2 separate regions of the Homo sapiens genome follow, and region 2 is linked to region 1. Evidence: promoter capture Hi-C in human tissues and cell types (Jung and others, 2019). All regions are on one chromosome and are shown on one strand. Each heading gives the region's core, a stretch centred on a gene start or on the middle of the fragment in contact. The rest is flanking DNA. Distances are from core to core; before and after follow the strand shown.

Evidence for each region. The method cuts DNA at HindIII sites, captures the fragments that hold promoters and counts their contacts. A contact is called where the count stands out against the background at its distance.
Region 2: a contact is called between a fragment that was not itself captured here and the fragment with the promoter of HNF4A in region 1, in 1 of the 25 tissues and cell types used here (aorta).

What each region holds. Positions count from the first base shown.
Region 1 is chr20:44,353,236-44,357,497 of GRCh38, reverse strand. HNF4A (hepatocyte nuclear factor 4 alpha) reads right to left here and starts at 1,799. Exons shown (of 10, transcript NM_175914.5): 1 at 1,645-1,799. The coding sequence starts at 1,693. R3HDML-AS1 (R3HDML antisense RNA 1) reads left to right here and starts at 2,256. Exons shown (of 4, transcript NR_184036.1): 1 at 2,256-2,479. It overlaps HNF4A-AS1 (HNF4A antisense RNA 1), which reads left to right. Exons shown (of 3, transcript NR_172878.1): 3 at 1-754. RefSeq lists an enhancer at 3,968-4,262. The HindIII fragment of the contact is 37,265 bases long and covers 1-4,262 here.
Region 2 is chr20:44,626,720-44,630,981 of GRCh38, reverse strand. It overlaps ADA (adenosine deaminase), which reads left to right. Exons shown (of 12, transcript NM_000022.4): 3 at 1,813-1,935. Among named protein-coding and RNA genes, the nearest start is that of ADA, 23 kb to the left of the region's middle. RefSeq lists enhancers at 241-990, 991-1,741, 1-1,978. The HindIII fragment of the contact is 7,776 bases long and covers 1-4,262 here.

The sequences.
Region 1 (4,262 bases), core at 550-3,049:
TATGACCTGGGCTGTCCTTCCCCAGAAGCTGTCTGGCCCCTTTGAGAGACAATGTCTTCCCCTAGCCACAGGTTCAACCAAGTCATCCATTGGCATCTATACTCCAGGTCTTAAAATTGTGGATTAAGGGTGGCCTCACCCTTAATCTCCTCTATGCTATCTCCTCTAATCTCCCCGCTCTCTGGGAGATAGGTCCTGTTGTTATCTTCATTTTACAGATGAGGAAATAGGTTCAGAGAGGGGAAATGTCTTGCCCAAGGTCACACAGCTGGTGTGTGGGATGGGTTCCCAGGCTGTTGGTTTCTTCAGCCTCTGCCATTTCCAGTGCATCACATATTCCTGTTTGATGGGGGTCAAAGCAAAGAAGATTCTTCCTGACTAGAGTCAGGAGATCAGGCCCTGATTCTGTCATTCCCTGGCCCTCTGTCCTCAGCAATTGATGACATAAATGTTGATTGTGTCTTTGCAATGCACGTGGTATCAAGGGCTTTACATCCTTGTTCCCCACGGCATCCACCATGATCTTAAGACACATCCTAGTCCTGTCTCCACTTCAGAAAGAAAGCAAGAGGCACGTGAATGTTGAGCCGTGTGACAGAGTCACAACTAGACCCCGAGGTCTGCTGGATTCCAGAGACCAAGTTCTGTGCGGGTGTGTGATTTGAACAGGTTTATAAAAGGCACCCAACTTTTAAAAAATCCAAAATGTGTCCCCAAAAGATAAAACATTCTCTTGAATTTCCCTCCTCAGAAACAAACCTGTCACCAATTTTATTGTGTCATTCCACGAATTTTCTATGCGTGGAATGTACACGTATACGCGTGTGTACATATATACATCTATATCCGTTTCGCTATCAGCAACTACACAGTTCTTCAGTGTACCGTTTTCACTTAATTTAACTGAGAGGTTCTTCCCTGTCACACACAGATGTGCGTTGTTTCCTTGAACAATGGGATAGCATTCCACTGTAAAGACGTCTCACGCTTTATTTACCCGTCTTCCCTCTGCTGAGGGACATTGGGTTGCTTCCAATGTGGGGGTCACCCTAAGGAGTGAGCCTGAGCCTTTCACTCTCAGTAACACATGCTTTCTAGCCCTGCATCTGAGTTTCACACGTCCGCACAAGATATTCTCATTTTCCAACGCTCCACCCTGCGCGGCGCTTTCTACCTCCTCCCCATTATCCAGAGCCAACGGAGGTGCGGAGCGACCGAGCTGCCCGGTCCCACGCCCAGCTTGATAATGCACCAGCAACGTGACCTAGGCCCAGCAAGCCTCTCCTGGTGGACCTCAATTTGCCCCGCATCGAAACAGGACGGTGCTTCCAAGCCCCACCCTCTGTGGGGTTTTGGAAAGACCCCTGAGATGCATTCCCAGGAAGGCCTCTGGACAGACAAAATGAGCCAAGCCTCTGCCCCAGGGCTTCTCGGCCCCTCCCAGCACTTCTCGCACCAAGCAGGCCATGCCCCGGCTTGAGAGCTTAGGGAAGCGGTCACATTGCCTCCGTGGGGCTTCCTGCCCTTCCAGAGGAGCTCCAGGAGGAGCTTTGGGCCCGTAAGAAACACACGGGGAGGTGTCCCATGGCCTCCCAAAGCTGACCGCAGTCCCGCCCTGTCCAGTCTTCCCCCAGCCCCACTTACCGTAAGAACTCTCCACTGGAGCCCCGAGGGGCGCGTTCACGCTGACCATGGCCAAGCCCACCCAGCCGGAGAGCTGGGGGCATGGAGGAGCAGGGGCCCGCTCACAGCAGCAGCACAGCCACCAGGAGCCCGTCCACCAGGAAGGCGGTGAGTGCGGCCAGCTGCCACCGCCCGGTTATCTTATTGATTCTTCTAATCACCCAAGGTGGGTGGATACGTTAAAGAGTAACCAGTCACTTAGGGAACCCGCGGCTGGGGACTGTTGCTGTCTCCATGGCAATGGCGACCTGGCCAGACCTGAGGTCCACTCGGGTCCTAGTCCTGCACTCTGGGGTTAGGGGAACCCAGAGCCAGGTGTATGGGGACATCAGCCCCCCAATTTGAGGACAGGGCCGGAGCAGAAGGGGCTGGAGAGGTGAGAGTCCAACCTGGGTTGGGTTTTATGGCTCCAAACTATGGGTGTGTCACCATGCAGGAAGTAGTGGGAAAACCGAGGGAGGGGCAGAGGAAAAAAGGAGGGTGGAGAACTGTGTTTAGTGAGTGCCTACTGGATGCTGGGAGTTGCATACAGGCGTTACCATATTTAAATTAAACCTTGAGATGAAGGGACTGAAGGACAGAGAGAAATTGCATGCCTGGAGTCTCACTGCTAGTACATAGAGGTGTTATCTTCCTTTCATCTAACATATTTATTGAGCACCTACTATGTACCAGGCCTTGTGCTAGACTCTGGGGATATGGAAATGAGCAAAGTAGATGTACCCCCGAAACTTGTGGACTAATGGAGGAGACGGACCTTAATCAGATCGTCATTCAAAGATACTATTACAAACTGGTGAGTGATATGAGGGGTGGAGAAACATGGGGCTGCCTCCAGGCCAATGGGACAAAGTCATCCTGTCTGGCGTCTCCTCTGGTCTCCTTCCCCATTCTAAATTCAACCTGCTGCTGAAACTCACACACTCTGTTTTAGCTCCCTGGCATGTTAGACACCTGCCACCTAGCTTTTTTTTTGGAACAGCCCCGTTTCTTTTGTCTCAGTTTTGGATCTCACCACCTGCTTGGGGATTCTGAAATCAAGGTCATTCATCCTGTTAGAGAGAGCTGAAATGAGAACAGTGAAACAAATTCTGGACTCAGAAAAATCAGAAAACTCCAGCTCTATTATTTTCTTGCTGTATGTTTTTTAGTAAATTATTTCATTTCCTTATAGGAATACCTAGCTCATAGTTTGCCCTGCTTCTAAAATAGCTAATTGATAATATTCCTCTTCTCTTCCCATAGTCTCTTTTTTCAGCTTTATCAATCACCTCAGAGGGACCTTCAGCCCCTACAGATGGGCATGGGTTGCATTAAAATGTCCTTTCTTTTCTAAAACAACAGTGATAACAAACGTTAGATTTTGGGGCCGGGTGCAGTGGCTCACGCCTGTAACCCCAGCATTTTGGGAGGCCGAGGCGCACCGATCACGAGGTCAGGAGTTTGAGGCCAGCCTGACCAACATGGTGAAACCCCGTCTCTACCAAAAATAAAAAAATTAGCCGGGCATGGTGGCAAACGGGAGGCTGAGGCAAGAGAATCGTTTGAACCAGGGGGACAGAGGTTGCAGTGAGCCAAGATCGTGCCACTGCACTCCAGCCTGGGCAACAGAGAGAGACTCCATCTCAAAATAAATAAATAAATAAATAAATAAATAAATAAATAAATAACTTCGATATTTTTTAAAAAAAAGTATTAATATTCTTGGTCGGGTGTAGTGGCTCATGCCTGTAATCCCAGCAGTTTGGGAGGCTGAGGCAGGTGGATCACTTGAGGTCAGGAGTTTGAGACCAGGCTGGCCAACACGGTGTAATCCCATCTCTACTAAAAATACAAAAATTAGCTGGGTGTGGCAGCGAGCACCTGTAATCTCAGCTACTCGGGAGGCTGAAGGAGGAGAATCGTTTCAACCTAGGAGGCAAATGTTGCAGTGAGCCAAGATTGCACTACTGCACTGCAGCCTTGGCGACAGAGCCAGACTCCATCTCAGAAAAAAAAAAAGTATTAATATTTTTATATGGGGGTGGGGGAGGTTTGCTAACCCTATGTCAATTTCCCAAAATGTTCTGGAGATTTAAGTGGTACGTAACCCCCTGCATGAAGTGGCGTCATGAGGTCACATAACTACGAAGGAGCCAACACAGAACTGGAATTCAGCATCATCTGACCCCAAAGCCCGTGCTATTTCAACAGGTCTCACATTGCCTTCCTGAGCACCAGGATAATGAGGATGACAACCACTGGCATTTATGAACTCTTTAGTTTGTCAGCATTGTATATTCTTAACGTCATTGAATTGTCACTGTCAATATTCCCATTTTACAGATGTAAAAACTGGGATTCAAGAAGTTTCATTAAATCTGTTCTTTTTTTTTTTTTTTTTTTTCTGAGACAGAGTTTTGCTCTTGTTGTCCAGGCTGGAGTGCAATGGCGCCATCTCGGCTCACTTTAACCTCCGCCTCCTGGGTTCAAGCGATTCTCCTTCCTCAGCCTCCCAAGTAGCTGGGATTACAGGCACACAGCACCACGCCTGGCTAATTTTGTATTTTTAGTAGAGACGGGGTTTCACCATGTTGGTC
Region 2 (4,262 bases), core at 1,712-4,211, 270 kb before region 1:
GAGTGCAGTGGTGCAATCTTGGCCCGCAGTAGCCTTGACTTCCAGGCTCAGGTGGTCCTCCCACCTTAGCCTCCCAAGTAGCTGGGACTACAGGTGCACGCCACCACGCCTGGTGAATTTTTGTTTTGAAGGGGTTTCACTGTGTTGCCCAGGCTGGTTTCAAACTCCTGGGCTTAAGTGATCCGCCAGCCTTGGCTTCCCAAAGTACTGTGATTACAGGTATGAGCCACTGCACCCGGCCTCCTATTTTTCTGCTTCTGCTTTGTGGATAATTGGATGCTTGGACCTCCTGATTTAATCTTCTAATTTCCTTAACTGTTTACTCCTATTTTTCATCATCTTGTCTTTTTGTTCTACTTTGTGGAGGATTTCTTCACTTTTAGCTTCCAGTTCTTTTCTTACATCGTGACAGTTGCTGCCGCATTCTCTTGTAAATTTCCGAGGGCTCGTTCTTGGGTTCTGAATGTTCCCTCCTTTCAAGGATCTTCTCATCTCTTTGAGGATATTCATGTCTTTTTTGTTTTGGTTCTTAGGTTTTCATCTGTTCTCTGTGCTGTTTCCTCGGAGTGCTTTTGTCTATTCTGTTGTTTTGTCCCTCATGTTAGAAGCATTTCTTTTTTTTTTCTTTTTTTTTTTGTGATACAGAGTCTTGCTCTGTCACCAGGCTGGAGTGCAGTAGCATGATCTCGGCTCACCACAGCCTCTGACTCCCTGGTTCAAGTGATTCTCCTGCCTCAGCCTCCTGAGTAGCTGGGATTACAGGCACACACCACCACACCCAACTAATTTTTGTATTTTTGGTAGAGACGGGGTTTCACCATGTTGGCCAGGATAGTCTCAATCTCCTGACCTCATGATCCTCGCACCTTGGCCTGGGAGGCCAAAGTGCTGGGATTACAGGCGTGAGCCACCATGCCCAGCCTAGAAGCATTTCTTAATGTCTGGTGTTCTCTGGCTGTTGTATCTTAAAAAAAAAAGGGGGGGGAAACTGAGGCTCGAGGTGACCTTGTGAGCTGGAGCAGAGCCGGGATGGGATGAGGAGGCAGGAGCGTGTGCAGAAGAGAGGGAGCCCCCCTGAGCTCGCACCCTGCTTCCCGTGGCTGGGAGGGGAGGCCGAGATGCTTGGGGAGAAATGGAGGCTCCAAGCCAGAGGGGCTGTTTCCAGCACGCTCTTACTGAGCGCTGCTGTAGTCCAGCTTGGTGTGGCGGCTGTGGGCAGGGAGGGGAGAGAGGTCTGAGCTGGCTGGCGGCCCACTGGGCCCCTCCCCTGAGCCTCCACCGGCCCTCTCCCAGTGCGCTGGGCTGGGCAAGCCTCTGATGTGCCAGCCAGATGGAGGGTGAAGTCCTGATGCCTGCCCCTACCCTGGGAATTGTGATGCTGCAGTTACTGCCCCTGATAACCCCTGACTGGGCATAGGACCAGCTGGCTGAGCCAGCTCCTGGGGCTGAGGAGGAAGCCATGAACTTGACCTGGCACTTTCCTTGTCTCCAAGCATCAGTCAACCAAGGATATGGAGGGGGTGTGTGCATGTGTGCACACATACACACACACACACACACACACTTCAACCTGTTTATCCCCCTTGAGATTTGCTGACTTGTGCATTGGGGGTAGAAGGTGCTGGAAAAATTCCGGTCCTGGTTCTCAGTTTCCCCATCTGTCCAGTGGGAGCAGCTGGACTGAGAGACGCCCATGTCTCCTGCTGTGGTCCTGCAAGGAGGCTGGCGCTCCTGAGTCTGCTCCATCCTGGCCTGTCAGGCCTGCCTGGATCCTGCCCCGGGTTGGTCCACCACTCACTGTTTTGTTTCCAGGAGGAGAGGGATCGCCCTCCCAGCTAACACAGCAGAGGGGCTGCTGAACGTCATTGGCATGGACAAGCCGCTCACCCTTCCAGACTTCCTGGCCAAGTTTGACTACTACATGCCTGCTATCGCGTGAGTTGCCCCCAACCCACAGGTCCTAGGGCAGCATTGATCCCTATGACTAGGACCAGGCCTGTCCCTCAGCCTGTGGGGGCCAGAGAAGTTGCTCTGAAACCACAGCTGTCTTTCTCACCATTGTGTACACTTAGTGAGTCTCTCCAGTGCCTTTAGGCCTCAGTTTTCCCTTCTGAGATGTGGGTGTGATGGACTGAAATTGCTTCAAGTTCTACAGAGAAATGGCAGAATATGGGAGCTAAGAACACAGGGTCAGAGGCAGTGCAGGGCTTGAACCCGGGCCATCTATCTCCTAGTTCAGGGCTTCGTGTTGTGAGGGGAGGAGAGGCCTGAATATAGGGTGGGGGCGGGGAGATGTGGGGAAGATTCTCCAAAAGGCTTTTTCTTTTTCTTGTCTTGAGTCGCCAGGGAACAGCACTAGGTACCGAAAAGGCCCAGAAGGGGTATGGGCGAGTACTAGAGAGAAATTTCCATGACTGCTTTATTTATTTATTTATTTATTTATTTATTTATTTATTGAGACAGAGTCTCACTCTGTTGCCCAGGCTGAAGTGCAGTGGTGCGATCTCAGCTCACTGCAACCTCCACCTCCCAGTTTAAGGGATTCTCCTGCTTTAGCCTCCCAAGTAGCTGGGATCACAGGCACCCACCATCACACCCAACTAATGGTTTTGTATTTTTAGTAGAGATGGGGTTTTACTATGTTTGCCAGGCTGGTCTCGAATTCCTGACCTCAGGTGATCTGCCCGCCTCGGCCTCCCAAAATGCTGGGATTACAGGCGTGAGCCACTGCGCCTGGCCTCCATCCTCATCCTGAAGATGCAAGAACTTCTGGTGACCCCTTCTCCTGAGAGTGGCCTGATCTCCCCTGGGCAGGGCACTTTCTTCCCACGCTGGGCTCTCCCAGCACTTGTGTGCCTTCCCTCACACATTCTAGTAACCACTTCATTTTCACTCTTCATGGTGGGAACTTCCAGCTAAGCACAGTCCACCGTTACGTGATCAACACAGTGGCCCTGGCAGGCCAATTTGTGCCTTGCTTCTGGAACAAACATGCAGTAATAACAACGAAAATGTTTTGAGCATTTGTCCGCTCTGCTCCAAGCACTGACCCGGGTGGGGTTTATGAAGTTTGACTCATTTGTCCCCGCAATAACTCCTTGACCTAGGTGTCAGAGGGTGACTAACCAGGGGTCACACAGCAGATAAGTGTGGGCACAAGGATCCAAGTCCATGACTGTATCCCACGTGTCTCCCACATCCAGGCATCCCTCTGGACTTGTCCAGCTGTGTCCTTTTCTCTCATTTCTCTTCCCTGCCAGCCTTAACTCCATCACCAACAAATATTGGGCTACTCTGTCCTAGGCATGGTCCTCAGCTGAGAGGTCGCAGCCATCCCAAGACAGAGGGGTCCTTGCCACATGGAGACTGCATTCTAGTAGGGAATACAGCAAACTGGCTGATAAGCCATATGACACACAATGTTGAGTAGTGATAAGGACCTGGGAGAAAAAGAAAGCCCAGGAGAATGGTGGAGGGGCCGTTTTAAGATAAGGCGGTCTGGGCCAGGTACAGTGGCTCACGCCTGTATCCCCAGCACTTTGGGAGGCTGAGGTGGGCGGATCATGAGGTCAGGAGATCGAGACCATCCTGGCTAACACAGCGAAACGCTGTCTCTACTAAAAATACAAAAAATTAGCCGGGCGTGGTGGCATGCGCCTGTAATCCCAGCTACTTGGGAGGCTGAGGCAGACGAATCACTTGAACCCAGGAGGCAGAGGCTGCAGTGAGCTGAGATGGCGCCACTGCACTCCAGCCTGGGCGACAGAGCAAGATTCTGTCTCAAAAAAAAAAAAAAAAGATAAGGTGGTCAGGGAAGGCCTCTCTGAGGAGGTGAAGCTTCAGCTGGCTCTAAACCAGGGGAGCGGGAGAGACGCAGTGTAGGACAGTATCGGGGAAGAGCAGGCCTGTGTCTTCTCCGGTGGCCTCAGGGAATGAGGGAGAAGGAAGGTGCTGGGGAGGCTGGCAAGGCCTGGAGGATGCAGGCCTTGTGGGCAGGACCTGGGAGTTGCGATGTCACTCTCCGTGGCAGGAAGCTACTGGGGCTTCGAGGGGAGAAGTGATATGCTTTGATTTACCTTCTTAAAAGATTGCCCCAACTGCTGGGTGGAGAACAGGATGACAGGGGCAAGCATGGAGACAGGGAGGCCAGTTAGAGATGGCGTGATTCAGGCCAGGATGGAGGGGTGAGAACTGGTATGCAGTTCCAAAGTAGAGCTGATAGGACTTGCCCAGTGTCTGGGATCTTATCCAGTGGATGCCCA